2 separate regions of the Homo sapiens genome follow, and region 1 is linked to region 2. Evidence: promoter capture Hi-C in 16 types of primary human blood cells and fetal thymus (Javierre and others, 2016). All regions are on one chromosome and are shown on one strand. Each heading gives the region's core, a stretch centred on a gene start or on the middle of the fragment in contact. The rest is flanking DNA. Distances are from core to core; before and after follow the strand shown. Region 1 holds the start of STAU1 (staufen double-stranded RNA binding protein 1). Region 2 holds the start of SLC9A8 (solute carrier family 9 member A8).

Region 1 (5,912 bases), core at 146-2,645, 620 kb before region 2:
AAAACTTCCACACAAGCAATACTGCAACACGGAGGCGGGGCAAGGGCTTAAAAGGAAAGTCAGCCAACAGGGAGGGGTGAATATAAGCAAAGCTTCCGTGAAAAAAAACTTATCGAGGTGTAGAGCAAGACAAGACAGACAAATTTTTCCATCTCCGTACACCCCCCTTCAGAGCCCAACACACAGCAAGTGCTCTAGATAGGTTTGCTCAACTCAAGGGAAGCTTCTGCCAGCAACTTTCCCAGAAATGGAATGACAAGAAGAAGCTGGATGATGGCGGGGCGGGGAGAAATGGACAGGTTGCTCATCCTGCGGGAGATGGTGAATATCCTGCAGTTGCCTAAGCGGAGATGGAAAGAAACAGCATCCATCGTTTACAGACTGTCAACTACAGTGTCCCAATTAAGCGTACGCCCCTTTCAGATGTTAACAACTGAAAACAATGCCCTGGCTCTGGACATGGGCACGCGGAACACTGCAGCCTCTAAGAAACCCAAACGGATAGGTAGGTCAACTTCTATCCACTCTGCCCATTAAATTATACCTTCATATCACGCTAATAAATTATGCAGACGGTTTACTGGGACACGCTGTGGGTCTGGCACTCTGATAAGCGCTTTACACGCCCCATTTCACTGAACCTTAAGAGGCAGGGACGGTATTAGCAGCCCCTTTTCCAACCAAGACACAAAGACTTTTTAAGTGTCTTGCCTAACGGGGCAGAGCCGGGTTCGGCACCCGTTTTGGACACCTGGGCCGTGCTCTTAACCACTAAGCTACAGACCTGGGCCGGCGACACTGAGAGGCTCCAGCCCTCGGGGACCTGAAGCAGGGACCCCCCCCCCCCCCCGCCTGCGCCCCAGCCCCGGGAATAACTTCGGCATCCCCGCGCGCGCCATGCGGGACGAGGAAAGGCGGCCGCAGCACCTGTTTGTGGCACCGGTGAGGGCTGGAGGGGATGGGGGCGCCCGGGGCCAGGCCTCAGGGCGCCCCGAGGCGAGGGAACGCAAGAGGACCCGCCTCCTCCGGGAAGGCCCCGCGGGCTAGAGAGAGGCCCGGGAGAAGGCGGAGGGGTGCGCGGGCCCGCCGAGGCCTAGGCCCCACCCGCCGCCCACCTCCCCACCGCGGCGGCGCCCGCGAGGGCCCCACCAGGCCCGGCCCGGCCCGGCCGCCTCACCTGGCTGCTGCTCCGAGCTCGTCCCCCGGCCGGCGGTCCTGGGCGGTGGCGGCGAGGAGGGGAAGGAAGAAGGAAAAAAGGGAGAGGAAGAAGGGACGAAGGGAGGGAAGAGGCGGAGTGGCCGTGGAGGAGGCGGGCGCCGCCGGGCCGGGGGGGGGAGGCGGTCAAAGGAAGCGGGAGCCGAGAGAGACGCGGCAGCCGCCGGCGCAAACGCTGAAGAGCCGCTCAGGCGCCCGCAGCCCGGCAGGAAGTGACGGGGGAGGGGCAGGCGCCCGCCCCCGGCCCCCGCCCGCCTCCAGGCCCGGCCCCGGCCCCACCCCCACCCACGGTCCGAACCACAAGTTCCGGCTGGCACTGCGGCGGAGCCTGCGCTCGCAAGGCACGCCGGGGGCCCAGCGGGAGGAGCGCCCTGTCCCGCCTGGACCGCAGCGGCCCGTCCTGAGTCCCGGGGCCTGCCGGGAGTTGTAGTTCTGGTGGGAGTTTCGCGCTGCCTGCTGGACTCGAAGCGGGTCTGGGAGAACCCAGCCTACCTTCTTTCCTCCTCCACTTCCTTTTTCCTTCCTTGCTGTCGCTTCTTCCTCTTGTCCTGCCTCTGGCCTTCCTTTCTCTCCTTCCTGCAGTTGTTTCTTCCTCCATCTGTAAATGTTCATTAAATGCTTGCCATATGCAAGGCATTGCTCCAAGAGCTAAGAATGTAGTGGTGAACTGACAAAAATCCCTGCCCTCGTGGAGCTTACATTCTTGTGTAAGTAAAATACACAATAAATAAAATTGAAAAATGTGTAGTGAGATAAAAGACAATGGCCCGGGCGCGTTGGCTCAGGCCTCTAATCCCGGCACTTTGGGAGGCCGAGGCGGGCGGATCACTAGGTCAAGAGATCGAGACCATCCTGGCTACCACGGTGAAACCCCCGTCTCTACTGAAAATACAAAAAATTAGCCGGGCGTGGTGGCGGGCGCCTGTAGGTAAACAGCTACTCGGGAGGCTGAGGCAGGAGAATCGCTTGAACCCGGGAGGCGGAGATTGCAGTGAGCTGAGATCGCGCCGCTGCACTCCAGCCTTGGCGACAAAGAGACACTGGTCTCAAAAAAAAAAAAAAAAAAAAAAAAAAAAAAAAAAAAAAAGACGAGAAGTGCCAGATTACTATTTATTTCACCCAGACCTAGATAAACTAAGTGGTTTTTAGCAGCTGTATTGTATGGGAGGTTGGAGAGAGGGTGGCCAGTAAAGAATCTTGGCCAGGCGCAGTGGCTCACGCCTGTAATCCCGGCACTTTGGGAGGCCGAGGTGGGCGGATCACCTGAGGTCAGGAGTTCGAGACCAGCCTGACTAACATGGTGAAACCCCGTCTCTACTAGCCGGATGCAGTGGTGGGCGCCTGTAATCACAGCTACTTGGGAGGCTGAGGCAGGAGAATCTCTTGAACCCGGGAGACGGAGGTTGCAGTGAGCCGAGATCACGCCATTGCACTCCAACCTGGGCAACAGAGTGAGACTCTGTCTCAAAAAAAAAAAAAAAAAAAAAAAGAATCTTGAACTTCTGCACACTCAGCGAAAATTATGCTCGCGTTGTGAGAGGTCCAAGAAACTGAGAATGAATGAAGGAACTGCAGGTGCACAGAGCTTCTCTCTCCCGCTCACTCTGGGACTGCCGCCCCACTATTTAAAAATAATTCTCTCTTTCTTAAATGTCTCTCAATCTAATAATTGCTCAATCTCTCTTGCCAACGGAATATAAATTCAAAATACGAGCTGCTGTGTCTGAAGAGGCCCCTCCAAACAAGGCTTTGGAGCCTTAGCGAAGCCTGGGAGGACACTTGCCTCCTTACATTGCTTCTTGTGAAGTGCAATGACACTGAATTTCAGAACACCAAAAATAGTCAAAGGACTTTCACCGTCCCTTTAGTGCCCATCCAAGACAGTAGTAAGCAACATTCAGATATTGTCCAGCCCTCTGCTAAAAGTGATCTTTTCTTTCTAACTTCCAAGCAGTGTGGATCCCATACCTCCTTGGGTAAAGGAGCAGATGCAGAGAGGTCTCCCTAAACCCAAAGCTGCGCACAATCAGACAATCTCGTCAAAGGTGATTTTGCTATCACCCATAGGGACAAAAGTGGTGGGTCTATGACTTCCAGTCTCAATTTTCTTCCCTCTTTCCTCCTTCCGCATCTTTTTTGTTTTTTTCTTGAGACAGGGTCTCGCTCTGTCACCTAACTAGAGTGCAGTGGCATGAGCACAGCTAACTGCAGCCTCAACCTCCTGAGCTCAAGAAATCCTCCTACCTCAGCCTCCTGAGTAGCTGGGACCACAGGCATGTGCCACCACTCCCAGCTAATTTTTTAATTTTTTATAGAGACAGGGTTTTACTAAGTTGCCCAGGGTCTTACTAAGTTACTAAGTTGACCAGGCTGGTCTCAAATTCTAGGCTCAAGCAATCCTCTTGCCTCAATCTTCCAAAGTACTGGGGGGATTATTCCAGGTGTGGGCCACCATACCTGACCAGGAGTAGGTCACCTAGATTTGTTTTCTTCTGTTTGTACCTAGAAACTATCAGTCAAGTTCTCTTCCAAGGTCCTGAAGACCTCTTGAGTCTTGCTAAGTAATTAAGGAATCATTTTTCTTTACCTTGAGAAAAAGATGGAAGCTGTGTGTTCTTGGTTCACAAGAAACTGTGAGCATTAAGTATGTTACGATAAATTATGTGTGTTCCTTCTCACAAGATAAATTATGTGCATCTGTACTAAGGAATGGGAACATGCAAAACTCATAAAAGCCCTGTGAGATGCTGAATTTTTTTTTTTTTTTTTTGAGACAGAATCTCACTCTGTTGCCCAAGCTGAAGTGCAATGGTGTGATCTCGGCTCTCTGATGCAAAGCTCATAAAAGCCCTGTGAGACATTTATTTTTATTTTTAATTATTTTTTTTTTTTGAGACAGAGTCTCCCTCAGTCACCCAGGCTAAAGTGCAGTGGCGCGATCTCGGCTCACTGCAACCTCCACCTCCCGGGCTCAAGCAATTCTCCTGCCTCAGCCTCCCGAGTAGCTGAGACTACAGGCGCTTGCCACCATGCCCTGTAATTTTTGTGTTTTTAGTACAGACGGGGTTTCGCCATGTTGGCCAGGCTGGTCTCGAACTCCTGGCCTCAGGTGATCCACCCGCCTCGGCCTCCCAAGGTGCTGGGATTACAAGTGTGAATGTTAACCTCTGATGAATTATCTGTTCCACTCTCATAGCCTCTTAGTAGAACTTTGCACCCTTATAATTTTCAATTATCTGTTGAGTATATCTATTAGGCTAGAACTAAGTGATCAACTTCCATGACAGCAGAGACTCAGCCTGTCTTAGTAGTCATGATGGTCCCTGGCCCATAACACAGTGCCAGGGACACAATAGTACATGATAAATTTCCGTAGACTGCTGAAAAATTACAGCCTTGCTTATCTCTGCGCAAGTCCCTAAGAAACAGGGAACACCTGTAGGGTTGATTGGTGTATGTCAGGGTCACCTGTGGTATGTGTAGCACAGGAGAACAAGGTTGAGAACTACTTGCTGGCCTAAATAAGTAATTCCCAAGCTTATTTGAGGTAGCCTGCACTCCTAGGGATATATCAGAATCTAAGAGCAACAATTAGAAGACATAAAAATATAATGGGGCCGGGCGCAGTGGCTTACACCTGTAATCCCAGCACTTTGGGAGGCCAAGGCAGGCGGATCTCTTGAGGTCAGGAGTTCGAGACCAGCCTGGCCAACATGGTGAAACCCCATCGCTACTAAACATACAGAAATTAGCCAGCCGTGGTGGTATGCAACTTTAGTCCCAGGTACTCGGGCATGTGAGGCAGGAGAATCACTTGAACCTGGGAGGCAGAGGTTTCAGTGAGCTGAGATCACGCCACTGTATTCCAGCCTAGGCAAGAGAGCGAGACTCCATCTCAAAAAACAAAATGAGGCTGGGCACGGTGGTTCACGCCTGTAATCCCAGCACTTTGGGAGGCCGAGGAGGGCAGATCATGAGGTCAGGAGATCGAGACCATCCTGGCTAACATGGTGAAACCCCATCTCTACTAAAAATACAAAAAATTAGCTGGGCGTGGTGGCAGGCACCTGTAGTCCCAGCTACTCGGGAGGCTGAGGCAGGAGAATGGCGTGAACCCAGGAGGCAGAGCTTGCAGTGAGCTGAGATCGAGTCACTGCACTGCAGCCTGGGAAACAGAGCGAGACTCCATCTCAAAAAAAAAAAAAAAAGAAAAAACAAGAGAAAAAAGATATAATGGAAGATCCCATTTACAAAGCAGTGGAAAAATAAAAATACCTAGAAATAAACTTTACAAGAAATATGCACAATCTGTGTGAAGAAAAAATGTTTAATTCTGCAAAAGAATACAGAAAAAGACTTGAACAAAGAGAAATACAGGTTATGGTATTGGCTAGGAAGGTTCCATCCAGATCATTAAGATATCAGTTGATCAAGACATTGAAGGACAGCCTGGCCAACGTGGCAAAATCCCAACTCTACAAAAAAAGTACAAAAATAATTAGCCGGGTGTGGTGGCATGTGCCTGTGGCCCCAGCTACTTGGGAGGCTGAAGTGGGAGAATCGCGTGAGCCCAGGAGGTTGAGGCTGCAGTGAGCTGTGATTGCACCACTGCACTCCAGGCTTGGAGTGAGACCCTGACTCAAAAAATACATTAAAATTTAAAAAGACATTGAATGAGATCCCAAGAAAAATAACAA
Region 2 (5,701 bases), core at 270-2,769:
AACACAGCTATGCCTATTTATATTATTTATGCTGCATGCAAACTACAGAGTTGATTTGTTGCTACAGAGATAGTAAGGCCCACAAAGCCTTCAGTATTTACTGTCTGACTCTTTACAGAGACTGGTCAGGGAGGGCTTCCCTGAGGAGGGGACATTTAAGCTGAGACATGAATAACAAGAAGACTGGAGATAGCGGGCAGAGCTGTCTAGGCAGAGACAATGGAGAGCAAAGGCAGTTTTCTCTCTAATCTTGTAACAGTCTTCTAAAGAGAAGCGTTATTAAAGAAAAAAAGAAAAAAAAATTGAGGGGGCCCTGAGGCTCTGAGGGTGCTGTAGCCTCTCAGGGTCACGGAGACTGTAGGTCCTGAGGAGGGGTTGGGAACCAGCACTGTCTGGCACCAGAATTTGTGGTGCCTTATGCTGCCTCCTTCTCGGCCTGACACAGCATTGGAGCCCAGAAACTGCATGTTGAATGGCTTTATTCACCTTCCTCGGGGAAGGACCAGGGATTTTAGATTCATTCTCAGGAATAGGTGAGAAGAGCCAAAGACTCACCCATGGGCATGAGAGAATGTTCTCTGCAGCCTCATGGTTAGTGGTAGGCCCAGAGGAGGCCAAGGGCAGTAGGCAAGACAACGGATAGAGAAGAGTAGTGAATTCCAGCTATGTGGAGTTTCCAGCTTGGCGAATTCCAGCCATGTGGGGTTTATTGGTGCTGGTAGAAAATGGTAGCCTCAAGCCCTCAGTTGACAAGTGTGGCCAGAGAGAACCCCACTCTCAATCCTTTGTAGACCAGGTCATTCCCGCCAGGCTCTGTGCTAACGGAGGAGAGTAGGTTATTAGTCCCATTTAAGAGCCAGAGAAATTAAGGCAGTGGAGAGTAGCAGGGCTACTGGTTTAAAAACACTGGCTCTGTGCCTGAATCCCAGCCTTGTCATTTGCTAGCTGTGGGACCGCAGGCAAGTGCCTTGATTTCTCTATGTCTGTGGATAATGATGGTATCTACCTCAAAGCTATGTAAAGAATTAAGGAAACAATAGCCCAACACCACACCTGCAGGAAGGAAGCAAGTTTATTATTACTCAATAAACATTGGTGGATCCTGATGACATTCTCTCAGTCAGCTTTAGCAGTCTTAAGAGACTGCAGAGGATGGAGAACCCAAGGTTAGAGCCAGATTTCTTCTCTACCCAGTTCCTCGGGGCCAAAACCCTGACACCATGCTTAACTCCTCTTTTATACGCCATAGTCCGTCAGCAAACCTTGTCTTCAGTATGCGTCCAGGAGTCCAACCATTCCTGCCACCTCCACCGTATTACTTTCATCCAGACTGCCATCAGCTGTCACCTAGATTATTGCAAAAGCCTCCTTGCTGGCTTTGGGGCTTCCATCCTCTCTCTCTCGCCAATCCCCAGTCAACTCCCAACAGGCAGCAAAGCTTAGGTTACTTCTCAGTTCAAAACCCTTCTAGGTGTGCTAGAATTAACTGATTTATTTACTCAATGATTATTTATTATTGAGTGTCTACTATGTGCCAGGTACTGTTGTAGGCATTGCAGATAAAATGGAGAACAAAACAGACAAAAATTTCTGCATTCATGAAGCTTCCGTTCTCATGGAGGGAGATGGTTAACAAACAAGTGTATGAGTAAAACATATGGTAGGTTAGGTGTCATGTGGAAAAATAGTTTAGGGAAGGCGGGGGGCCTTGGATTTTAAGTAGGGTGGTCAAGGAGGTCTAACACACAAGATAAGGGTTAAATAAAAGGCCAAACGTAGGAGAGGTGGGAGCCAAAGAGCTACCCAGAAGAAGAGCATTCTAGATAAAGGCTCAGTAAGTGCAACGGTGGAAGTATTCCTGGTGAGTCTGGGACAATAGTGGAAAGTCAAAGTGTGTGGGAGGGGAGATATAGAGCCCCATGCCCCCCTCCCACACACTTCAGAGGGGAAAAGGGGGCAGGATTGAGTCCTGTACATTCCCCACGTTTTTTTTTTCTCTGGAGATTGGAAGCCATTGGAGGGTCTAAGCAGAGGAGTGATGAGTTAAGCTGCTGTGTGGAAGTCCGTAAGGAACAGGGGTGAGTCAGAGACCCTGAATGGAGCCGTTGCAATTATCCAGATGAGATAGAGTGCCTTGGATCAGGAAGGGAGGTAGCAACAGAAGCGGCCAATAAAGTTCAAAGTCCTCAGCCCCAGTCCTCCCGATGGGGGTCTCACCTACCCCTCTCACCTCACCTTGTTCCTCCCTGCATCCCCACCCCACCGGTCACTGCTAGGCACATAGAAGCATCTACTAAGCATGTGGTGAATCAATGAACCCCTTAATGAATGGTCCACCCCTAGATCATCAGCATCCTTTTTAACGCTAGGCATATAGTCTGAACTCAACACATGTTTACAGATGGAATGCTGCACAGTCCTGCCAAGTCCAGGCGGTTATTCCTCTCCACAGCCGAAGGAAACTAAGGCTCGGGTGGGGAAGTGTCCCCCTGGGGTCTCTCCGCTTAGGCTGCAGGCTGGGCATCCTTTTTCAAACTCTTTTAGCACAGCGAAGTCGAGGGCACTGGGTGGAGGGTGCTTGCTTGCCCTCAGGGTGAGTCACAGTGACCTCAGAGGAGTTTCCCCAAAACGTCCCCGCCCTGTGATGGGGAAAAGCCGGAATCTCTCGGTCCCAGGTGGTCATGTGGCCCAGGCCGGACAAGCGTCCCGAAAGCCCCGGGAGAGACTAAGAAGCAATCCTCCCACGCGCTTTCTCCCACCCTCGGGCCACTGAGACGGAGGGACAGAGGGCCGCCCTCGCGCGGCCGAGGCCCCGCCTCCCGCTCGCCCGCCCGCGCCTCCAGCGGAAGCCGGAAGCAAAAGCGGGTCCTGCTAGCCCCGCGGCTCCGAACTCGGTGGTCCTGGAAGCTCCGCAGGATGGGGGAGAAGATGGCGGAAGAGGAGTGAGTGGGCTTTTTCCCGGGCGGCGGAGGCGGCGGGGCTGGGCCCCGGCGGGTGACAGCGAGCGCCTCAGGCCGCCCTCCGGCCCCGGAAGGCGGAGCTTCTTTTGCTGGTTGGCCAGGACTGACCAAGCCGGTGCCTACGAGGAGGGCGGGATGGGCGGGCCTGGGCCCAGGTGGGCCTTGCTTTCCCCTGGAGATCGGTCCCTCGAGCTGGGAATCTACTGCCCAGCGCAGGCCCGGAGAGCTGTCTTGCGGAAAATACAAACCATATTTACTTTCCCAGTTTTCGGTAATCTCATGGTTACTGAGCCCTCTTCCGCCTCCTCCAGGAAGTCGTCCGGGTTCTCCACACCCACCTCCTACGTAGCCAGTCGCCTCCTGTATAACGATCAGTTTTCATGTCTTTCTCCTTCACTAAGTTTCATTTAGTCATTAACTGTTAGCCATCTACTCAATTCCAGGCCCTGGGCAGGTGGTAGGAAAGGAGGCCGACCAGGAGCCGCTCTCTGGGAGCTTCCATTCTAGTGGGAAAAGAAGACCATAATTAGTCAAGGTGGTTTCAGATCGTGATTAATTAACGTTATTTGTGCCTAGTGTTCCATTATTGGAACGCTAAGCATGTGGGAGTTATTTATATCCTACTGCTCAAGGTCATCGCCAAGGTCTGATTTTTCTCACGTCTGCAGTTCTAAAAATTGCAACCTCTGGCATGAATGGGTTAAGTGTTCTGAAGGAAGCAAAATAGAGTTAAGGTTGGGGAGTCCACTCAGGAAAAAGTGACATTCAGCAGAAACTTGAATGACCAGAATGAGGGATAGGAGAAATAACATCAGGTTCAAAAGGCCTGGCTCAAGAAAGAGTTTAGTGCTTTTGAGTGACAGGCAGCATGGCTGGTGTGTAGAGAGGAAGGGGGTTAGCTGGACAAGGGGAGATGGGGAAGGACGGGCTGTGTCCTCCAGGTACTTTTGGGCAAGTCCAAAAGTCATCTCCATACCTGCAGGGCAGAGTCTGTTGCAGATTGTAGATGCCCTATCACTGTTTGTGGAATGAGTATGTGAAGATGAATAAGGAACCCCTTCATTGATACTGGAGTCCTTCACCTGATAACTTTTCAAATATATTTCTTGGCCATGTGGGGGTCATTTCATGTAATCAGTTATTTATTGAGCAGCTGCTCCATCCCAGACACTAAACAGCCTCAGCAGCACAAAATAAAAGAGGCAATATAGCCCAGCGATTTCAAGTTTGGGTTTTCAGCTTGATTCTGCCACTAACTGAGATGTTGGTGAAGTTTTGCAACCTCCCTGAGCCTTAGTTATGCATGAGTAAAAAACGGAAAGTAATCATACCCAATCAGACATGTTATACCTATTAAATGAGAGGTAGTGTGTTACCTAGTTCCTGGAATAAAGCAGTGCTCAGAAAATAATAACTTTTGTAGTCACAGTAACAGTTATTATAGCAATATTGTACTAGTTCACAATCCCAGCACAGTGTGAAAGAGCTGTGGGAACATACGCAGTGGAGTGGGTAAATTCGGGTGTGGTAAGATGGGGTAATAGGAGGTGACATTTGAGCCGTTTGAAATCTGAGAGGGATTTTGTAAAGTAGGGTAGGGCATGCCCAGATCAACAACTGGGCAAATTGAGGTGGCTTCTTCAACTTGCAGAAATAATGCCAGGAAAATAATGTAAATTGGAGAAACAAAGGTGCTAAGTAAACAGTGTTGGACCTTGGAAAGTGATGAGACTCCAGTTTGCCTCCCTTTAAATCCCCCAGTATTTGCCAAAGAGCAGGCAGCATTTCATTTCTATACTAGCTCTGATTCCCTACCGTTCTTGTCCTCTAAGTGGCTGTATTCAAAAGCACCAGAGGCCACTGGTACCCTTGTGCTGTGCAGGCAGGGATTTTCTTAGTAAGTTTCTCTCGAAGGCCTGCCTGTTAAAGACTTCTGAATCCCATAAAGTTCTTGGACAGCTTCTCTTTCTGGTGTGAGGTGTGTGAATTGATGTTTTGGGACCCTTTTCCATTATCTAATTATGCTTTCTATGTCCTCCAGGAGGTTCCCCAATACAACTCATGAGGGTTTCAATGTCACCCTCCACACCACCCTGGTTGTCACGACGAAACTGGTGCTCCCGACCCCTGGCAAGCCCATCCTCCCCGTGCAGACAGGGGAGCAGGCCCAGCAAGAGGAGCAGTCCAGCGGCATGACCATTTTCTTCAGCCTCCTTGTCCTAGGTGAATATGGACACTGTCATCCCCATCATCTGCCATCCCGTGTCTGTGTGCTCGGTCTGTGTGTTTAACCCTGTCACTCCTCTTGACTGTCAAGTCTTCCTCCCATTTGGTTTTCATATCAAACACTGAGGGAACATGATCAGTTTATAACATCATTAACAGGAAACTCTCTTCTTTATAAAATCATGGTGCTTAGCAAGTTCTGAAGAGCTGTTGATGTAATATCTTGGCCTTTGAAAGAAGGATTAAAAAAATTTTGGCCTAGAAAGAATCTTGAGGCCTGGCGCGGTGGCTCAAGCCTGACATCTCAGCACTTTGGGAGACTTGGGTGGATCACTTGAGGTTAGGAGTTCAAGACCAGCCTGGCCAACATGGTGAAACTCTGTCTTCACTAAAAATACAAAAATTAGCTAGGCGTAGTGGTGTATGCCTGTAATCACAGCTACTCAGGAGGCTGAGGCACGAGAATCACTTGAACCTGAGAGGCAGAGGTTGCAGTGAGCCGAGATCACGCCGCT

Evidence for each region. Contacts are between HindIII fragments. The CHiCAGO score rates a contact against its expected background, and 5 or more counts as called.
Region 1: the fragment with the promoter of STAU1 here is called in contact with a fragment that was not itself captured in region 2 in 1 of 17 cell types (fetal thymus); the score reaches 6.3 in fetal thymus.

Annotation. Positions count from the first base shown.
Region 1 is chr20:49,186,939-49,192,850 of GRCh38, forward strand. STAU1 (staufen double-stranded RNA binding protein 1) reads right to left here and starts at 1,396. Exons shown (of 14, transcript NM_017453.4): 1 at 1,178-1,396. RefSeq lists an enhancer at 140-209 and silencers at 610-769, 1,000-1,669. The HindIII fragment of the contact is 4,529 bases long and covers 222-4,750 here.
Region 2 is chr20:49,810,007-49,815,707 of GRCh38, forward strand. SLC9A8 (solute carrier family 9 member A8) reads left to right here and starts at 2,822. Exons shown (of 16, transcript NM_015266.3): 1 at 2,822-2,942; 2 at 5,002-5,183. The coding sequence starts at 2,917. RefSeq lists an enhancer at 2,501-2,640 and a silencer at 2,791-3,070. The HindIII fragment of the contact is 166 bases long and covers 1,437-1,602 here.